Linked DNA regions of Homo sapiens: all the other regions are linked to region 2. The links are contacts of gene promoters, found by promoter capture Hi-C in human tissues and cell types (Jung and others, 2019). All regions are on one chromosome and are shown on one strand. The core of a region is centred on a gene start or on the middle of the fragment in contact, and the rest is flanking DNA. Distances in the headings are between cores, read along the strand shown. Region 1 holds the start of TBATA (thymus, brain and testes associated). Region 2 holds the start of PALD1 (phosphatase domain containing paladin 1). Region 3 overlaps PPA1 (inorganic pyrophosphatase 1).

The links. Contacts are between HindIII fragments. The study calls those that stand out against the background at their distance.
Region 1: a contact is called between the fragment with the promoter of TBATA here and the fragment with the promoter of PALD1 in region 2, in 2 of the 25 tissues and cell types used here (adrenal gland and lymphoblastoid cells).
Region 3: a contact is called between a fragment that was not itself captured here and the fragment with the promoter of PALD1 in region 2, in 1 of the 25 tissues and cell types used here (bladder).

Annotation. Positions count from the first base shown.
Region 1 is chr10:70,782,948-70,786,829 of GRCh38, reverse strand. It overlaps TBATA (thymus, brain and testes associated), which reads left to right and starts at 1,453. Exons shown (of 11, transcript NM_001318241.2): 1 at 1,453-1,545; 2 at 2,057-2,183; 3 at 3,305-3,491. The coding sequence starts at 3,451. The HindIII fragment of the contact is 18,774 bases long and covers 1-3,882 here.
Region 2 is chr10:70,477,517-70,481,238 of GRCh38, reverse strand. PALD1 (phosphatase domain containing paladin 1) reads right to left here and starts at 2,472. Exons shown (of 20, transcript NM_014431.3): 1 at 2,180-2,472. RefSeq lists enhancers at 1-499, 677-856, 500-1,142 and silencers at 2,137-2,586, 2,787-2,856. The HindIII fragment of the contact is 10,532 bases long and covers 243-3,722 here.
Region 3 is chr10:70,218,686-70,222,366 of GRCh38, reverse strand. PPA1 (inorganic pyrophosphatase 1) reads left to right here. Exons shown (of 11, transcript NM_021129.4): 3 at 3,550-3,603. Among named protein-coding and RNA genes, the nearest start is that of PPA1, 13 kb to the left of the region's middle. RefSeq lists enhancers at 1-126, 127-627. The HindIII fragment of the contact is 5,424 bases long and covers 1-3,681 here.

The DNA.
Region 1 (3,882 bases), core at 204-2,703, 310 kb before region 2:
CCGTATTCCTGCAGAGACAGGCCCAGAAAAAGCCAGGGAACATCCTGACCTGCCGAAGGATGGGTGGGCATTTGGAGTAGGCCAAGACCAGAGGACAGCCCTCAGGGGGCCACCAGAGTGGTATGAATCCCCACCCCTTAGCTGGGAGGGGCAGAACTTTTGAAGGACTTGGGTTTGCCTCTAGCTACCCACCTTCCTTTTCTTGCTCCCCAGAGAAAAGACACAGAGTCTGGAAGCCCCAGGGCACCAGTATGAAGCCAGGGGTGCTGAGAGCAAAGGCCCTGGGAAAAGCCCACCTCATCATTCTGAGGGACAGCACCCGGCACTGTCTGCAAGCCTTCCCATAGTTTACAGAGCCTGTCTGCACCCCTCCCGGGATCTGATTGAGTTACAGCCCTGTCGGCTAAGAACTATCCTTACCCCCATTTGACAGGTGTCCAAGTTGAGCCTCAGAGAAATAGTGAACTACCTAAGATAGTTCTCAGACAAAGGACTCATCCTACTACCTCCATCAAGTTACCAATAATAATGATGATTATTATCCTTTTTGAGCATCTCTTGTGTGCCAGACATACAACTAAAGGCTTCACTTCCATTAGCTTGTCTTCAGAACAACCACAGAAGTAGGTGAGGATATCCCATTTTATAGACCCAGAGAAGGCAATAATAGTAAGAAATTATACTTGGGGGCAGATACTGTTTGAAACGCTTTAATATATATCAACTCACTTAATATTCTCAAACATCCTGTGAGAATAAGTGCAGTATCATCATCTCCATTTTAGAGATATGGGAACTAAGGCTCAGAGAAGGCAGGTGCATTGTCTGAGGCCACACAACTAGGAAGTAGCAGAATAGGGACTCGAAGCAAGGATTCTTCCCACTATTTTGCATCTGTGGCAGTCCCGGTGACTTACCCAAGGTAACGTGTCTATGGGATGTTGAAATCTGATTAAAACACCTGTCCAAATGCAAGCCCAGAATCTTCCCACCCAGCTGTCATGCAGAGAGAGGGGCTGGGGTCCCTCTGGGTAATGCGGGCTGCCATCTTCTCTCCTTCCAAGACCCACCTCCCTGAGAATGGGTCCCCAGAACCAAGATGCATGGAAGCCGACCCCTGTGTGGTGGGGTCAGGCCAGGTGGGGCTGACGAAGCTGGGACGCAGCCCACCAACGTCCTCTGCCAGCGTTCCGCCTCCATCCGCTTCTCTCTGGCTAAAACCAGCCCCAGACTCTCCTTCTCTCCCTTGGCCCCCATTGAAAGTGTTGGATGGGAGGCAGCAGGGAAGTCAGGAGGGACAGAAGGTCCTTAGCCCTTGTCTACCCTTCCAGGAGGGGGAGATAGGCAGGGGATGTGGTAGAGGGGTGCTGGGCAGAGGTTCTGGAGTTGTGGGAACAGGGTAACCTAGCAACCACTGGGCTCAGTGTCACAAAGCAGGCAGACTTGCCCACAGAACCCACAGCCTTCCCCTCGATTTGTCCTCTTGCTCCTTCCTGCTAGGACAGCAGGGCTTCTCGTACACATGCTGTAGCGGGCACTGCCTTGGTGAGTCCAGGGACCTCTCGGGAGAGGAGATGGACCCTGGACAGCCCAGAAGGGCAGAGGTAGAAAGGGAAGTTTTGTGGCTGGATTGATGGGAGCCCTCAGACCCCTCTGCCTGGCTGGCTGGGGCCCCAGGGACAGAGAGCAGGGGCAGGGCAGGGCAGACTACACTGGGGTCCCACCTGTCCCGCTCTGGACAAGGCAGGCTTGGCCTACTAGAGTCCCTGTCAGCCTCTCTACAGCCGCTGTGGGTTATGACCCCCTGGTGGCTTATTAGATCAATTTAAATGGATCATATCTAACATTTAAGAAATAAAAACCAAAAATAGGGTAAAAATATCAGTGTGCATCATATGTAGTACGGATAAATATTGCTTCAGGATATTATTGTTTTAGTTTCACACACACACACAAACCCATATGTGAATTGGATCATGACATAAAGAATTTCTTACCGTCATCACAGCCAAACACATTTGCAAGTCTCTGTTCTAAAGAGTACTTTTTCCCATAGGCAGGAGGATTTGGGGCTTCCACATATCCTGTTCTCAAGATTGTAGCATCTCAGTACTCTAGAGCCCAGTACCTGACATCAAGGATGTCTGGAGCTTCCTTTTAAGGAAAGAAAAGATCAGCAAACTGTGAGTCAGACTGCCCGGGCTCTGGTTCCTTCTGTGTGACCTCAGCAAATCTCCCCTGCTTCCCTGATCTCAGACAACTCCAACCCATCCCACTACCTGATGAAGGCTGGCATTGGGAGATCTCTGGGGTCCCTTGCAGATTCTGTGACTCTGAGGGTTAATTCTCAGAATGCACTGATGTCCTGTCCCAACCCCATCCCTAGCACTTTGGCTAGATATATATATTCAGGTCCATAGATTTAATCATAATTCTTGGTTTTGACACCTATCATCTTTCATCTATGCCATTTAATTAGTTTATTTAATAATATAATAAACACAAGCAAATACACCACCCAAACCAAGAACAAGAACATCATCACTAACACATCTCCTTATATGCGCTTCTCCTGCACACTTCCCCTCCCCGCCTTCCCTCGGAAATAGCCACTATGTGAATTTCGTGCTTAGCATTTCCTTGTTTGATGCTGTTGTTGCTGTTTTATCGCATGTTCATGATCATTTTGCTTGCTTTTAAACTTTTATTTTTAGAAAGGATCTCAGGCTATGTGGTCCTCTGGAACTTGTGGTCCTCTGGAACACACATAAACTAAACCATTTATGAAAGAAAAATAATATGTTTTTAAACAACATTTATACTGTTTAGTAGTTATTTTATATTATCCACACATTATATATAGTGGATGACAACAATTGTATTGTTTCAAATGCATATATCTTGTTCTACTGCAGCCTATTTAATAGTAATTAATAAAAAGTAAATTGAGTTAATAAGATTGCATAAATATAACATCGCAAAACCAAGAATTGTTAAGTTTTCTCATACTGATTATAAGATTCATCCATGTTGTTACATGTAGCTGTGGCTCATTTATTTTCATAGCAATAAAGTATCCCATTGTCTGAATGCACCACAGCTTATTTATCCATTCTTCTGCCATCAGACATTTGGGTTGCCACCAGGTTTTTGCTATTTTGAACAGTGTTTGTATGAATATTCTTATAAGTAGCCCCTGTTGTACATCTATAAGAATTTCTCTTATATCTGGGAAAGAAATTGCTGGGTGATACAGCATGCAAATGCTCAATTTTAAAAGATATTACCATTTCTCCCCCTAAAGTGCCTGTTCCCGTTTACACTTCCACCACCAGTTCGTGAGAGTTCCTGTTCTGCATCCTCAACACTAGTATTAAGTGAGAGTTCCTGTTCTGCATCCTCAACGCTAGTATTAAGTGCACTGGCCTTTAGTCTGTTAAAAAGCATACAATGGCTACAGATGTTCAATTGGCTGATTATCCACTGATGAGGTGAGGCTCCAAATGCCCACCCTGCTGACTGAGGAGGGCTTGGGGTAGGGCAGGGTAGAAGACAAAGGTGGCCTTGGGGGATCTCAACAGATTAGGAGTCCAAGAGAGGTGGTTCTTACTGGACTTCTGCTGCCGGTCAGCCAGACCCCCCAATGGGTCCTCAGGCTCAAGTTAGCCCAGGTAGTGGGCTTTGCCCCTCCTGGGCAGGGAAAAGACTTGAGCGGGTGCCAGAAGCACTGAGCAAAGGAGTTCCAGGGGTTCTCAGGAGGTGACTTCCTCTGTTACTTGGGGGTAGAAGAGGACAGCTAACTGCAACTTTCAGAGAAGGTTTGCTTTATTTCTTTAAGCCCCAGATCCCTTAGAGGCGAATGGAGAATGGAACAGGAAACTC
Region 2 (3,722 bases), core at 1,223-3,722:
GCTCTGGCAAGCATATGTGTCTGTGCCCCCCAGGAGCTCACAGCCAACTCCATTCTGCCCAGGCACTTGAGCGGCTTCCCTGTGGCTCCGAGTCTTTTGTCTGGGAATGTCGGTTCCCATCCCCGTCTGTGCTCTGCTGGGTCTACCTATATGTCTGTCCACTTACATGTCTGCCTCCCATGTGGGGAGATTCAGATCCCAGCAATGGTGTATTTCTATGTACGTGTCTGCAGCCCATACGTGGCCCACGCTGATGGGTTCATGTATGTCTGTCCCCGCACATGTCTGTGTCCCTGGGTTGTTTGCTCACCCCCACCATCCTCCTGTGTCTGTCCTCAAGTATATATGTATCCAGCTCCTCTACGTCTCTGCCCACACAGATGTAAACCTGAGCACACACACGCACTCACGTCTCTGCCCACACGGGGCATCCCCCACAGGTGCCTGGGTAACCCAGGTCTGTGCACCACCTGTTTGGAGGCAGGCAAGTGTGTTCACACAAGTTCTCACAGTGCCAGCCAAGGGCTTCGGGTGAGCTCAGCAACTCCCACTCCCAGAACTGCACCCAAGGCCACGAGCATGAGCACACTGCCACCTCCACGAAGTGCTCCAGAAAAACAGAAACCTGCCAGGGACAATGAGGGAGGGGGCAGGGCCCCAGATACAGCAGAGCCTCACAGAAGTGAGGTCAGAGCTGTGCCAGGAACCACCCACCTCAAGCCACCTGGGCCCTACTGTGCCCACCCCCAACACTGGCCAGGAAAGGGAGGGGGGTGCATGCACCACCTGGGGTCTGTCTGCACTCATAGGAAACTGGCCCAGTGCCTGCCAGCCTCCCGACCTACCCCAACCCCCCGCGACAGAGGCTCTTCAGAAAGGAAGTGAGGACTTCCTCCTGCTTACCTCTGAACCTCCTACAAGGCTGGCTCTAGACCCCAAACCCCAGGAGCCACAGGGCAACTAGGAGTGTCCTGTGCTCAGCCCAAGCCAAGAAACCAAATGGGTTATTTCAGAAATCCACCAGCAGGAAACAAACAAACCTGGGAGTGGGTGGGGATGAGTGCAGGAGAACCTCCTCAGCGCCCCTGCTGCTCCCTGCCCTTGGAGCAAGGTAATAAGGAAGGGCGGGCATGGAGCTGGAACATTTCAGCACATTTGCTTGCTTGCATGGAACTGGATCTCTGCTGCCCTGGCACTCTCGCAGCCTACATTACTCACATAGCAATTAATGGTGTGTAGCCTCTTGGCTTTCCACTATTACCAGTTCAGGACTGGTATTGAAACCCTGTATCGGGGAACTTTGTGTGTTTATGTCCTGTCTTGCCCCCAGGGGCTGAGCCTCCTGAGGACAGAATCCTCCAAATCCTCCTCCATCCACACATTCCAGGGGCACGGCCCAGTGCCCTTCCTGGCATTTAAGAGGTGCTCGGCCACTGGGTTCAGGTTACTCTACCCAGAAGCCAAGGAGTTGGTTCCTGGGCCTCTGGCTGGGAGAGTAGAGATGCCCAGAAGATTCCCTGGGCCATGAAGCTTTACTCCCATCTCTGACAACCCAAGAGAAAGGGCTCCAACCATCCCGGCCACCTTCAGGAGCCGGGTCTCCCATAGGCCACTCTCTCTCTGACAGGTTACTGCCCCTTCAGGAAAACCCTCTGAAACTGAAAAACGTACTCTCCTTGGAGACCCGGGCCTACAGAGGAAGAGGGCCAGACTGGGCCAAGAATCAAAGCCTGTGCCCGCTGAGACTTCTGGACTCGTCCTGGGTCTGAGGGCCTCACGCCCCCTAGAGATGAGTCCCAGGACCCCATCTCGGTCATGAAGCGGCTTCCCTCTCCCCAATCTCCCCCTAACTTCGCGGGAAACCCTAGCTCCTGGCCATGCTCCCAGGTCTGGCAATGAAAAGTGGAATTGTCACCAGGCCATGCCTACACCAAACCCAGGGAACTCGGGAGAGGGGGTAGCCCAGGGTCCAACACACACAACCACCCAGCAACTGCTCCCTGTGAGTCCCTCTTGCCTCCCAGGGACCAATCCTGAGCGGGTGTGGGGTGAAGGCCCAGGACCTCACCTCTCCAAAGGATGGGGAGTTGGTGTCTGGAGCAGCCTCGGGCTGGGGGGTGCCCGGGGGATTCCAGATTTGCCCTCCCCTCGCCAGCCCCAGGGCAGGACACTTCGGTACCTGCCAGCCCGCGGCTCCGGGGGGCATCCGTGCTCCTGCGGCCGGCGTGCTGCGCCCGAACTGCGGGCGCCGAGTCAGGCAGCGACGGGGCGCGCCCGGCGCGCGCTCTGGCTCCAGCTCGCTCCTCCCAACTTCGCCAGCCCATGCGGGGGCAGAGGTGGCTCCGGAGGTGGGCAGGCCAGGCGGACCCGGCGAGGCCACGCGAGAGGGAGCCCGTGCTCACCGGCGACGGGACCTGCGCGCCCCGGCCCGTGCGCGCCGCGCTGCTCCCCAGCGCCCCGCTACCCAACGCCGAGGGGCGGACCCGACCCGGCCGCCAATCACCGCGCCCGCCCCCGCCCGGACCGCGAGTCCCGGCCCCACCGCGAGGGGCGGGGGGCTCAGATTTAAAGACACACTCAGCCCAGCCGCAGCCCCCGGGCGGGAGGAACGCGGGCGCCACGTTCCCCGGCTGCGCTTCCTCCCTCCGCCCGCCCACCCTCCGCGAGGAGGAAAAGTTTGGGGCGGGGGAGACTGCCCGGGAAGCCAGTTCCTCTTCCCTCGTCGCTAGTGCGGCTCCTTCTGGAAGACACCCAAACCCGACATCCAGCCTCCTGGCTGCGAGAGGCAGCAGCGCTCTGGGCGCCACACCCCGTCCCGGACGCCGGCTACCCGCGACACCCGCTGGCCCGGCTTCCCTCGCCCCCCTCTGCTTTACAGCCAGGCCGAGCCTCGGCGGGACCGAGCCCAGCATCCGGGCTCCGGGCCGGCCTCGCTGTGCAGTGCGGCCGGAGCTGGATGATGGTGCGCTCTGCACTTTTGCCTCCCACGTGTCGAAGGGGAGCCCCTAAACAGCAGACGGTCCCCCCAAGCAGGGGCTTCTCCCACGCCCCGGGGTCCTAAGGAAACGCGCCCCTCGGCCCCCAGAGGTGAGAGGGGAACAGCAGAGCAGAGCTTTGGATGGAGAGGGGTCCCTCCGCCCCCACCCATCATGCGGCTCCAGGCAGTGACCCGCACCATAGGCCTGCCCCCCCCACCACTCCTCACCCCACACGCGCGGACTAGCACTAGGCGGCAGCCAGCCCGGCCCACTCCGACGGCCCCGCACGCCCCCGCGAGCACGTGGGTGAACGCACCCACGTGCGTGCGTTCACTCTTCGCTGTGCTTCCTCGCGGAGAGATAGGCTTTGTTGTGGTTGGTGAGTCACTTCCTCCCTCTCGCTGCTCCACACTCGGGAAATCCTTTTTTCTCACCTGTTACCACCTGCCTCACCCCCATTCAGGACTGGAGCTGGATTTCGGCGAGCTGGGGTTGCCCCAGGATGCAGGCAGTGTAGGCCCCACCTCTGTCAGGCTGGAGAGCGCTGGGCTGGGAGAGGGGAACACATTCCCCATGACCCCTAAGAATAACTGAAGACAAGAGAAATCACTCATTGTGGTGGTCTCACCATGTCCCTAGCACCTAGCTCTTAAGTGCCTCGCGAAGTTATAAGGTCGGTACTTTTCTGATCCCTATTTTAACAAATGAGGAAACAGGCCCAGGGAAGACTTGTCCTCAGCTCCA
Region 3 (3,681 bases), core at 1-2,500, 260 kb after region 2:
TAATTTCTTTTTTTTTTTTTTTTTTTTTTTTGAGACGGAGTCTTGCTCTGTGGCCCAGGCTGGAGTGCAGTGGTGTGATCTCAGTTCACTGCAACCTCCGCCTCCCAGGTTCACGCCATTCTCCTGCCTCAGCCTCCCGAGTAGCTGGGACTACAGGCACCTGCCACCACGCCCAGCTAATTTTTTTGTATTTTTAGTAGACACGGTTTTTCACTGTGTTAGCCAGGATGGTCTCGATCTCCTGACCTCATAATCCGCCCACCTCGGCCTCCCAAAGTGCTATGATTACAGGTGTGAGCCACCACCCCCCGGCCTCACCCAGCTAATTTCTAAAAAGCACCAGACCTTCAAGCTTTTGTTCGCAGCAGAATTCTCTTACCATTTTCTGAAGGATGTTTTCTTCCTTGTTATTTTTTTCCTTCCCATTAATTATGTAGATTTATGTTATTAGGTAATACTGTTTTGAGGATCTATACATATTTGTCATTTACTGCTATTAAAGTGTTCAATATAGTTTCTAAACTTTGAATTAGTTATTTTAGCTCTATCTGCTATATCTTTCTTGAAGCAATGTATTCATTTGGTGGTGTTTTAACGAAATTAACAGCTAATCTTGGCGAGCTCTTCAGTTGATCTTTCATGTCGTAACAGCTCCATCTTGTGAATCTTTAGGGTACTGCTGCTGGAAACCGAAAGCCCTGACTTGTTCTTTTCACAGACCTACAGATCTCTCGTTTTTACACCTGAGAAGTGGACAAAATACTTGAAAACCTAGTGGACAAGGTGAAATTTAGTCAAAGATTGGTTCTGAGGTTTTCTACCCAGGATTAATAATTAGTGTTACATTTTCTAAACCATCTGGTTATTTTAGAGGGAAACAGGGATAGAGCAGTTTCTTCAGTCCTAGATTTAAGTAATATCTCCATTCTTTTGGTTTTTATGTTGTATTGGGTAAGTGAGGTATCAGGAGGCTTGGAGCAGAAACCTATGGATGCTTTAGTCTCCCATGGTTTCAGCAGGAACTTAAAATGACAGAAGTTCTACACTTTTGAATCAAAATCAGTGTAGTTTTTCTGCTTGGTAGCAGCAGGTAATTATTGACTTGAAACCTTTGACTTATTCCCTTGTGGCTTATCAGTTCCCGTTTTTTGATGGAAAGTAGCAAAGAAGTAATTCTAAAGAGTGGTGTAACCAAGTGATTTTCATTTTAAGTTAAGTTCTTAAAATGTACTTTACCAGTCTGGGGTAACATGGCAAAGCTCCATCTCTACAAAAAAAAAAAAAAAAAAATATATATATATATATATAAATTATATATATATATAATTTATATATATATTATATATATAAATTATATATATGTTATATATATAAATTATATATATAGTATATATATAAAAATTATATATATTATATATAAATTATATATATAGTATATATAAAAATTATATATATTATATATAAATTATATATATAGTATATATAAAGTATATATTATATATATAAGAATTATATATATAATATATATAAAAATTATATATATAATATATATAAAAATTATATATATTATATATATATAAATTATATATATTATATATATATAAATTATATATATTATATATATATAAATTATATATATTATATATATAAATTATATATATTATATATATATAAATTATATATATTATATATATATAAATTATATATAATATATATATAAATTATATATATTATATATATATAAATTATATATAATATATATATAAATTATATATAATATATAATTATATATATTATATATATAATTATATATATATTATACATAAAAATTATATATAATACATATATAATTTATATATATAAAATTATATAATATATATAAAAATTATATATATATGCACATACACGCACACACACACACATATATACATATACACACACACACAATTAGCTGGATGTGGTGGCATGCATCTGTAGCTCCAGCTACTCAGGAGGCTGAGATGGGAAGATTGCTTGAGCCAGGGTGGTTGAGGCTTCAGTGAGTCAAGCTCATACCACTGCACTCCAGCCTAGGTGGCAGAGTGAGACCTTGTCTCAAAAAAAAAAAAAAAAAGTACTTTTTATAAGCATAATTGCAGGCCAGGTGCGGTGGCTTACACCTGTAATCCCAGCACTTTGGGAGGCTGAGGCGGGTGGATCACCTGAGGTCAGGAGTTTGAGACCAGCCTGGCCAACATGGCGAAACTCCATCTCTACTAAAAATACAAAAATTAGCCAGGTGTAGTGGCACGCCCCTGTGTTATCCCAGCTACTCAGGAGGCTGAGACAGTAGAATCACTTGAACTCAGGAGGCAGAGGTTGCAGTGAGCCAAGATTGTGCCACTGCACTCCAGCCTGGGTGACAGAAAACAGTAATTGCAGATTTAGCTTCATCTGTGCCCTTTGTAGAGGCTAAAAACTGAAAAACTGCAGTTAAAGTTCTATTCCGTGAAAAAAAATAGTATTCTGAATAATTAAAGCTCAAGTTTAATTAAATAACCTATGGCATATTTAACTCCAGTGTGCAAAATGGGTTGGCAAAGTATGGTTTGTTTTTTCATTGTGTTTTTAAACTGCACATCTGGGAATTTACTCCCTGAATATATCATCTATTTTATAGTAGTCAGTTTAAGGCTATAAGCCAATTACAGTAGAACTATCATTGATTAAAATATTTTTAAAGCATATTCTCTTATCTTCAAGGTCAAAGTCCTTTTCAGGGGGGCTTTATTTCTAAAAACAGCCGAATTGGGAGAATAATGTGGATAATGAAGCTGATGAGTTTTGTTTGATGCTAAAACTAAAGTATGACCAAGTAATTAGGCTGATGTGGGGTTCGTCTTATAAACTAAAGTATGATCAAGTAATTAGTCTGACTTGGGGTTTGTCTTATAAACTGTCTCTGAAATAGAAGCTCCAAAAACATTTTGAGTAATTGCAGTGTCTCTGAAGGAAATAACACTGGCCTTTGGAGAGTGTTTTGAAGATGGTCTTCTTCAGAGATACAGGTTCTGTTACGTTTATTTAAGAACTGTTTCCTTCCTAGGAACATTCTTTCCACTGTCAGCTTTTATTCTGAAACACTTAAAGCATACAGAAAAGTTAAAAGATTTATATAGTAAGTTGGCTGGGCAAGATGGCTCACACCTGTAATCCTAGCACTTTGGGAGGTGGAGGCAGGAGGATCACTTGAGGCCAGGAGTTTGAGACCAGCCTGGGCAACACAGTAAGACCTTGCCTCTATAAAAAATTTAGAAGTAAATAAAAATTAAGAAGAACTATACCGTAAGCAATCATATACTGACCACCTTGATTCTATAATGAATATTTTCCTATAATTGCATTATTTCTTCATCCATCATTCTCTTTTTTTGATGCATTTTGTTGAAAATCCAATTGACTTCAAAGATCTGATACAATGAACAGTTTGACTTTGGAAGAAATAGTGCATGCTCCCTCAGAGAACAAATTGGCTCCTGTGACCATCTCACTTTCTCTTTGTTTTTTCAGGATGTGTTTCACATGGTAGTTGAAGTACCACGCTGGTCTAATGCAAAAATGGAGGTAATATTTCACCTTACATTTGAGTCAGACTTAGGATATTGGTTTTGATCTAGTCACACTGACTTGATCAAGGATGAA